Regions from separate parts of the Homo sapiens genome. Here all the other regions are linked to region 3. The links are contacts of gene promoters, found by promoter capture Hi-C in human tissues and cell types (Jung and others, 2019). All regions are on one chromosome and are shown on one strand. The core of a region is centred on a gene start or on the middle of the fragment in contact, and the rest is flanking DNA. Distances in the headings are between cores, read along the strand shown. Region 1 overlaps PCNT (pericentrin). Region 2 overlaps YBEY (ybeY metalloendoribonuclease). Region 3 holds the start of FTCD (formimidoyltransferase cyclodeaminase).

Region 1 (2,700 bases), core at 45-2,544, 240 kb before region 3:
GCGTCACGCAACACGGCGAGGCAGGGCCGCTGCACACCAGGGCCGGGTTCACGCCACCGTCAGAGCCTAGGCCCTGCCGGGAGAGTGGTCAGGGCCGGTAGCTGGCGCAGAGTCACACAACCGCAGAGCCAGGGTGAAAGGAAAGAAAACAAACCAGAGTGAGAAACTAGGGCAGGGTTAACCATGTCGAAAGGAAAGCAAACAAAGAGGACCCCAGAGAAACAACGAGAATTTCCCAGTGACAAAGTTGGCCCGAGCCTGCGAAAGGGCTCCATGAGATCCACTCCCGGCATGCCAGGCGCCTGCCACTGCAAGGCCCATGGTAAGCCTCAGCTTCAATCCTGGGGCCTGCAGGGAGCCCAGCCAGGCTATGGACACCCAGGGCCCACATCCACCTGTCACGACACTCCCTGGTGGGCCAGGCTTTGTGGCAGGAGATGAACCAGAGGCAAGGCAGCAGACGGGCCACCACAGCCTTGGGAAGAAGCCCTGCAGTGCTCAGACCCACGTGCTCAGGCCCAGGGCACGACACAGGCACCTGACACGGGGGCGCTAGCCACAGGGCCCCGGCCTCACCGGGCCGTTCAACAGAATGCAGGCCACACACCCCTTTATCTGCCCGGAGGCCTGACAAACGAAGTGACTGGCTGAAGTCCAAGGGCTCGAGGTGATGAAACACCAGGTGGTCTCCCCCGGCGGGGTGTGGCCCAGCGCCGGCTGGCTGGGCGCGAAGACACTGGAAATGGGGCAGCAGAGTCTACAGGGAGGGGCCCGACCATGAGGCTGCCCCCGGACAGCAGAGGACAAGCAGAGAAAGCATCGGAGAAACAGCGACAACGGACGCCCAGATGCAACAGCACCGCCAGGGCAAAGATGCTGAGAGCGATGCAGGACGTCAGAGACGTTCCTGAAAACACCCTGAAAAATCCTGAGGAGATGCAGGAAAACGAGGGCGTCAAAGGAAAAGAAACAGGATCTCGAGTCATGTCTCCAGCACCACTTCACTGGTGGAGGAAGGGACCTGAAGAGACTCCAGGCCCTCCTGGCCCTGGAGGTTCCCCCGCACTCCCCCTGTGGACACACAGAGTGCGGGGGCAACAGGGCTTAGAGGCCCGTGGGGAGATGACGCCGCCCTGAGCCCGGCAGCAGGCAACACCGCAGTGAGGACTTCACAGCTGGCCAAGGAAAATCCACCCCCGAGCAAGGGCCCAACGCCAGGAGGTGCGGCAAATAAAACTTGGCTAAATGACTAAAAGAAGATACTCACAGACAGGCTTTTAAAAAACAGTCATGAATATGGTATCCATACAAGGCACAACTAAAACAGAGTATTAAAAAAGACTTAAAATAAAAGGACAAGAAAAGATACACGAGGGGAAAAACACCAGGCTAATCCTTCAGCATCAGAAATTTATATAAAAAATAGAACGGGATAAACGAGAATGACAGAAATGAACCAAGAAAAGGAGAGGACAAAGTGTGGGCACAGTCATAGGCAGAGTTTAAAACATCCCGTGGGACCAATGTCTTCCACCCTGGAAAACGCCCCCTGGGCCAAAGAATTATAAGCTTGTGGGACCCAGATGTCAACACGAGCACCACAGGTGGAAAGGCTGGGGCACCACGAGGAGGCACGACCTGAACCCCACATCCTGTGAAAGGCAGCAAACATGTCCAAAAGCGTCCAACCCAACGAAGGCAGTGAGAAACCATAGGAGCTGGCCGGGCATGGTGGCTCACGCCTGCGATCCCAGCACTATGGGAGGCCGAGGCAGGCAGATCACTTGAGGTCAGGAGTTCGAGACCAGGCTGGCTAACATGGTGAAACCCCATCTCTACCAAAAACATAAAAAATTAGCCAGGTGTGGTGGTGCTCACCTGTAATCCCAGCTACTTGGGAGGCTGAGGCAGGAGAATCACTTGAACCCAGGAGGCGGAGGTTGCAGTGAACTGAGATCACGCCACTACACTCCAGCCTGGGGACACAGCGAGACTCCATCTCAAAAAAAACAAAAACAAAAACAAAACCATAGGAACAAGGAATCACACGAACAAGGGCAAAAATCAGCAAGACAGAAGACAGCAAATGAGAATGGCCACAAAAATCAAAAGCTGGTTGTTTTCTAAAGAGAAAAATGTAAAAAAATAATAATAATAATAAATGAGACTTCTGAATTGGCTGAGGTGGTGCCTGCGATGCCCAAGCTTCTAACTCCAATCTGTGTTCTGAAGGGATGACCCCGAGGCCACGGCCATCCTGGAAGGAACTTTTAGAGAAGCGCAGGCCCCTCTGCCTCCCACGTGCCTGAGATGCACGAATGCAATGTGAAAAGCCTTTGCTCGAGCTGAACCAGCTACTGAGGACGCAGCTCCCTGCAGGCTCGACATTTTAAACTTATGTTTTGACAGTTTTCATTTTAAATACCTTTGAGACTAAAATATCTAAAAATCTGAAAAGATACAAACTAATATTGTTAACACTATGTTTTCCTAATGAGGGTTAATATCAGGCACTTGGTTATTTTAAATGAAATTTTAAAGTAGCTCTTGTTTGCCGCACTCGGCTCTGCCTCCAGCTGCTGCTGTTGGACTCAGAGCCCCTCTTATTTCCACCTCACAGAGGTGGGGACCCTCCAACCAGCAGGACCGACAGACAACCCGCCTTCTCTGAAAGGGCAGCAAAGCCAGTGGATGCCTCAC
Region 2 (2,700 bases), core at 65-2,564, 140 kb before region 3:
TAACCGCGGGAGGAATTTAATCTAGAGTTTAACTTGTGTGGCTGTCCCCACTGAGTCCCGGGCACGGGTCAGGCTAACCGCGGGAGGAATTTAATCTAGAGTCTAACTTGTGTGGCTGTCCCCACTGAGTCCCGGGCACGGGTCAGGCTAACCGCGGGAGGAATTTAATCTAGAGTTTAACTTGCGTGGCTGACTCCACTGAGTCCCGGGCACGGGTCAGGCTAACCGCGGGAGGAATTTAATCTAGAGTTTAACTTGTGTGGCTGACTCCACTGAGTCCCGGGCACGGGTCAGGCTAACCGCGGGAGGAATTTAATCTAGAGTCTAACTTGCGTGGCTGTCCCCACTGAGTCCCGGGCACGGGTCAGGCTAACCGCGGGAGGAATTTAATCTAGAGTTTAACTTGCGTGGCTGTCCCCACTGAGTCCCGGGCACGGGTCAGGCTAACCGCGGGAGGAATTTAATCTAGAGTTTAACTTGCGTGGCTGTCCCCACTCAGTCCCGGGCACAGGCCAAGCTAACCACGGGAGGAATTTAATCTAGAGTTTAACTTTAAATCAAGAATAGTAATCATCCCTCCCTAAAACGAATCCCCTCCTTGCTCAAGACCGAAGCCACCTCTGTGAAGCTTGTGAAGGGCCACAAGATTAGGATGATGGGAGGGGCCTGAATTCTGCTCAGATGTAGGTGTCCTGAGGAGAACCAGCCCGCAGGCCTTGCTTCCCCAGCTTGCCCTGCTGTAATTCCCTACTGCTCAGGACTCACGCAGCCAGAGGTCACGAGATTTGTGACCGCCCCAATTGCTCCCCAATAAGATAACGTCAATAGTACAACCTAAGAATGGTCTTTTGGGATGTTTTTCAGACTTTTGAGTTCTGGCAACCTACAGACTCCACCTGGACCTGAGACTCATGACTCAGCTGATCCCGTGGCTCCACGCAGAGGCGGACTCAGGGGACAAAAATCGTTGACACCCCATGGTCCGTCTGCAGCCGATCAGCAGCAGGCATTCCCTAGCCCCTGCCTGCCAAATTGCCTGTAGAAACTGTAGCCTCTGAGTTCTCTGGGAGATTGAGTTGAATAATAACTCCAGCCTTTCTGCTTGGCTAGCTCTGTGTTAAACTCTTTCTCTACTGCAATACCACAATTGCAGTGAATTGGTTTTGTCTGTGCAGTGGGCAGGAAGAACCCATAGGTGGATTACACTGAGGAGAAACAGATCTGGAAGGTGGTGGAGGCTCCAACTTCTGTACTTCTGGCAGCTCAGAAAGAAGCTGATTCAGCAGGTCTGTGTTAGCTCAACATAGTCTGCTCTACTCCAGAGATAAAAGCTGAGAAGGCTTCTCTGGGAGCTTCTGTGTTTTCACAGCGTGTTCTCTCCCTCCTTCAACTGTGGCATGGGGCATGCAGTCCCTACCCAGCCTGGGTGCTCCTCACACCCTGCTTACAGGTTCTTCCCCCAGTAGCCCTTACGGTACCCACGGACACACATGGATGCAGGGTTGTGATCTTGACCCCTTTGCAAGGCCCATGTTCCATGAGCCAGGTTATATGATTTCAGCATCCCCGCTTACAGTCAGGACGTCATTGTAATCTTCATTTTCTTTACACTGATGGAAGATATACTCCACTCCTAGGAAAATGTCTCCCAAATTGTAGTCATCTGGAAAATCAGGCTGGGGAAATTCACCTGCTTTCAGATGCTAAAAAATGAGGAAATGTAGACTTAGAGAACAGGAAACGTAACCCAACCACAGGTTGACAGGTTTCATCCTGGTTAATCCCAAGGCAAATAAGCACTTATCTCTGAGCCAAATCACTTTTTTTTTTTTTTTTTTTGAGACGGAGTTTCACTCTTGTTGCCCAGGCTGCAGTGGAATGGCGCGATCTCGGCTCACTGCAACCTCTGCCTCCCGGGTTCAAGTGATTCTCCTGTCTCAGCCTCCTGAGTAGCTGGGATTACAGGTGCATGCCACCGTGCCCAGCTAATTTTTGTATTTCTTTTTTTTTTTTTTTTCCTGAGACAGAGTTTCCCTCTTGTTGCCCAGGCTGGAGTGTCCGCCTCCTGGGTTCAAGCAATTCTCCTGCCTCAGCCTCCCGAGTAGCTGGGACTACAGGCATGCGCCACCACGCCCGGCTAATTTTGTATTTTTAGTAGAGACTGGGTTTCTCCGTGTTGGTCAGGCTGGTCTCAAACTCCCAACCTCAGGTGATCCACCCGCCTTGGCCTCCGAAAGTGCTGGGATTACAGGCGTGAGCCACCGCGTCTGGCCTAATTTTTGTATTTTTTAGTAGAGATGGGGTTTCATCATATGGGTCAGGCTGGTCTCGAACTCCTGACCTCAGGTGATCTGCCTGCCTCAGCCTCCCAGAGTGCTGGGATTACAGGCGTGAGCCACTGTGCCAGCCACCCAAATCACTCTTAAGATGCATGTCTCAGGCCAGAGTGGCAGCTGGGCCTGTGGCGGGTGGGTTGCCCAGCCAACCGTACACAAGTGCCCTAAATTGTTTCCATTGTGAAAATTGTCAGAATAGCCAGGCGTGGTGGCTCACAGCTGTAATCCCAGCACTTTGGGAGGCCGAGGCGGGCAGATCAAGAGGTCAGGGGTTTGACACCAGCCTGACCAACATGGTGAAACCCCATCTCTACTAAAAATACAAAAATTAGCCAGGTGTGATGGCACATGCCTGTAACCCCAG
Region 3 (2,700 bases), core at 190-2,689:
AGACTGGGTAATTTTTAAAGAAAAAGCAGTTTAATGGACTCAACAGTTCCACAATCATGGTGGAAGGTGAAAGAGGAGCAAAGTCACGTCTTACAAGAGGGTGTGTGCAGGGGAACTGCCCTTTATAAAACCATCGGATCTCGTGAGACCATTCACTATCACAAAAACAGCACCGGAAAAAGCCGCCCCCGTGATTCAGTGACCTCCCACCGGGTCCCTCCCATGACGTGGGAACTATGGGCTCTACAATTCAAGATGAGATTTAGGTGGGGACACAGCCAAACCATATCACCATGTCTACCAAAAATGGAAAAGTTAGCCAGTGTAGTGGTGTGTGCCTGTGGCCCAGATGCTCAGGAGGCTAAGGTGAAAGGACCTCTTGAGCCTGGGGACCAAGGCTGCAGGAAGCCATGATTGTGCCGCTGCACTCCAGCCTGGCTGACAGAGTGAGACTTTGTCTCAAAAAAAAAAAAAAGAGAAAATGATAAAAGCACTGCAAGTGGGCAGCGGCTGAACGTGGAGACAGGAGTTCTCCCTTCTGAGCACGGCCCTGGTGCCGCTGACTTCGTGGGGAGCCTGTAGTCAGGGGAGCAGCAGCTGGGGAGAGCTGGGGTCTCAGCTGCCTTCCCCCATATCGCACATGCCCGTCTCGTGTGTATCTGCACTCTCACACGCGTGTTCCCCTGCCCTGCGCTCACATGTATCTGCACTCACTCTCACATGCTTGCTTCCCCTGCCCCATGCTCACGTGTACCTGCACTCTCACACGTGTGCTCCCCTACCCCACACTCACATGTATCCTCGCTCACTCTCACACGTGTTCCCCTGTCCTGTGCTCACATGTATCCACGCTCTCACACATGTGCTCCCCTGCCTTGTGCTCACGTGTATCTGCACTCTCACGTGTTCCCCTGCCCTGCCCTCACGTGTATCCTCACTCACTCTCACACGCGTGCTCCCCTGCACTCTCCTGTCTGAGCTGAGCTGACCTCAGTTGGGTGCTGCGAGCCAGGGCCTCATGCTGGCCTCTCGCCCTCCACAGCCCCAGGGGTCCAGGCTCCTCCAGGAACAAACGCAGGCCCCACGGGCTGCCTGGAAGGCCTCCCAGAAGGCAGCACAGGGTCACGAGGGTCACCCGCAGTGGCACAGGGAGGCCTCGTCACGACAGGATTCCAGCCAGGCTGGCCTGATGCTCCTGGGGGTCCTCGGCACATGCCCCTTCACCCTGGCATGTGCTTCTTTTCCGGGAACCCACACTCTGGCTGAGTGGAGCCATCCCCTCTGGGTCAACAGCACCCGGGGTGGCTCTGCAGCACCCCACTCCGCGGCTGCACAGGGACCTTGGCCCCACTGCTCCTTGTGCCTTGCTGGTTAATGAGAAGCCGGTGGGGAGGTGCTGCCGGTGAGCGTATAAAGGCCCTGGCGGCGGCTGCGGAGCACTGGCCCTGTCCTTCCATCTGCCCAGAGAGGAGCATCTGGATCAAGGTGCTGGCCATGTCCCAGCTGGTGGAATGCGTCCCCAACTTTTCGGAGGGGAAGAACCAGGAGGTGAGGCCCGAGGAGCTGGTCAAGCATCTAGGGCTGATGGGGCAGCTTGAGTGGCTAAGGCCCAGGCCATGGAGGAGGTGGTGGGCTTGGTGTCCCGGGTCGTCTTCCCAGGATGGGCAGAGCCGCTGCCCGTGGGCCCCAAGGACATCCCGTGGCTCAGGGCCCTGGGGAGTGCCTGACCCAGGGGTGGGTGGAACACGACTGGTGCTTGTGGGGGCTGAGGCTTGGCTGTGGCTTCAGGGGCCTTTCGGGTGCTTTCGGTGGGGGGTTGGGCAGATCTCTGGGCCTCAAAGGGCCTTGGTGCTCCCCCCTGAAAATGGGGCTCCTGCCACTGACTGAAAGGGCTGTGTGAGGCCACACGAGGTGGCCCAGCATGGTCCCCACTGCCGCCTCTCCATCTCCACTGGAGTTAGCTTGCTGAGCCCCCACCCTGCAGCCACCATCCTCACTGGACCCAAAACGAAGTAGGCACAGAGGGGGCAGCAGGCCCCCAGGTCCGGCCTCTCGCCTTCCACAGCCCTGAGGTCCAGGCTCCTCCGGGAACAAACGCAGGCCCTAAGGGCCACCTGGAAGGCCTCCCAGAGCGCAGCACCAGGCCACAGGGGTCACCCGCAGGGGTGCAGGGAGGCCTCGTCATGCCGGGATTCCAGCCAGCACCAAGGCCCTGGGACAGGGCAAGATTTGGGGCTGAGCCCCTGCTCCCAGCAGTCCTGCCACCCGGAAGGTTCTAGGCCCTTCAGGCCCCTCCCCCATGCTGGTGATCTGTCCCTCCCCTGCTCGGGGGTGGGGGTCCCGGCCCCTCTGTGACCTGCGCCTGTGGTCACCTTCTTGGATCCCCGGCCACGTCTCTGGCATCTGTCTGTCGGAGCAGAGCCCGTGAGTCTCTCCTGGAGGCACCACCTGCAGCCCCTTGTGGGGACTGTGCTTGGGCTGGAGTGACTGTGGCTGCTGTGAGGGTTCCCGGGCGGCCGCTGTGTGCGGGCACTTTCGGTGGGAGCTCAGCTTGTCGGAGAGCCCCCAAAGGCTTGGCCCGCCTCCTCAGCCCCCATTTGTGTCTCGGGGTGCAGCCACCTCCAAGCTCCTTTTCCTTCTTTCAAACGGGGAGACTGAGGTGTGGGGGCCGGGCCTGTGTCCCAGGTGATCGACGCCATC

What was found. Contacts are between HindIII fragments. The study calls those that stand out against the background at their distance.
Region 1: a fragment that was not itself captured here is called in contact with the fragment with the promoter of FTCD in region 3 in 2 of the 25 tissues and cell types used here (mesenchymal stem cells and mesendoderm cells).
Region 2: a contact is called between a fragment that was not itself captured here and the fragment with the promoter of FTCD in region 3, in 1 of the 25 tissues and cell types used here (lymphoblastoid cells).

Annotation. Positions count from the first base shown.
Region 1 is chr21:46,391,541-46,394,240 of GRCh38, reverse strand. All of the region lies in intron 21 of PCNT (pericentrin), which reads right to left. Among named protein-coding and RNA genes, the nearest start is that of DIP2A, 66 kb to the left of the region's middle. The HindIII fragment of the contact is 4,353 bases long and covers 1-2,700 here.
Region 2 is chr21:46,290,337-46,293,036 of GRCh38, reverse strand. YBEY (ybeY metalloendoribonuclease) reads right to left here. Exons shown (of 5, transcript NM_001314025.2): 3 at 1,575-1,703. Among named protein-coding and RNA genes, the nearest start is that of YBEY, 5.3 kb to the right of the region's middle. RefSeq lists an enhancer at 2,644-2,700. The HindIII fragment of the contact is 7,396 bases long and covers 1-2,700 here.
Region 3 is chr21:46,154,318-46,157,017 of GRCh38, reverse strand. FTCD (formimidoyltransferase cyclodeaminase) reads left to right here and starts at 1,439. Exons shown (of 14, transcript NM_206965.2): 1 at 1,439-1,548; 2 at 2,686-2,700. The coding sequence starts at 1,495. RefSeq lists enhancers at 1,666-2,369, 2,370-2,700. The HindIII fragment of the contact is 26,017 bases long and covers 1-2,700 here.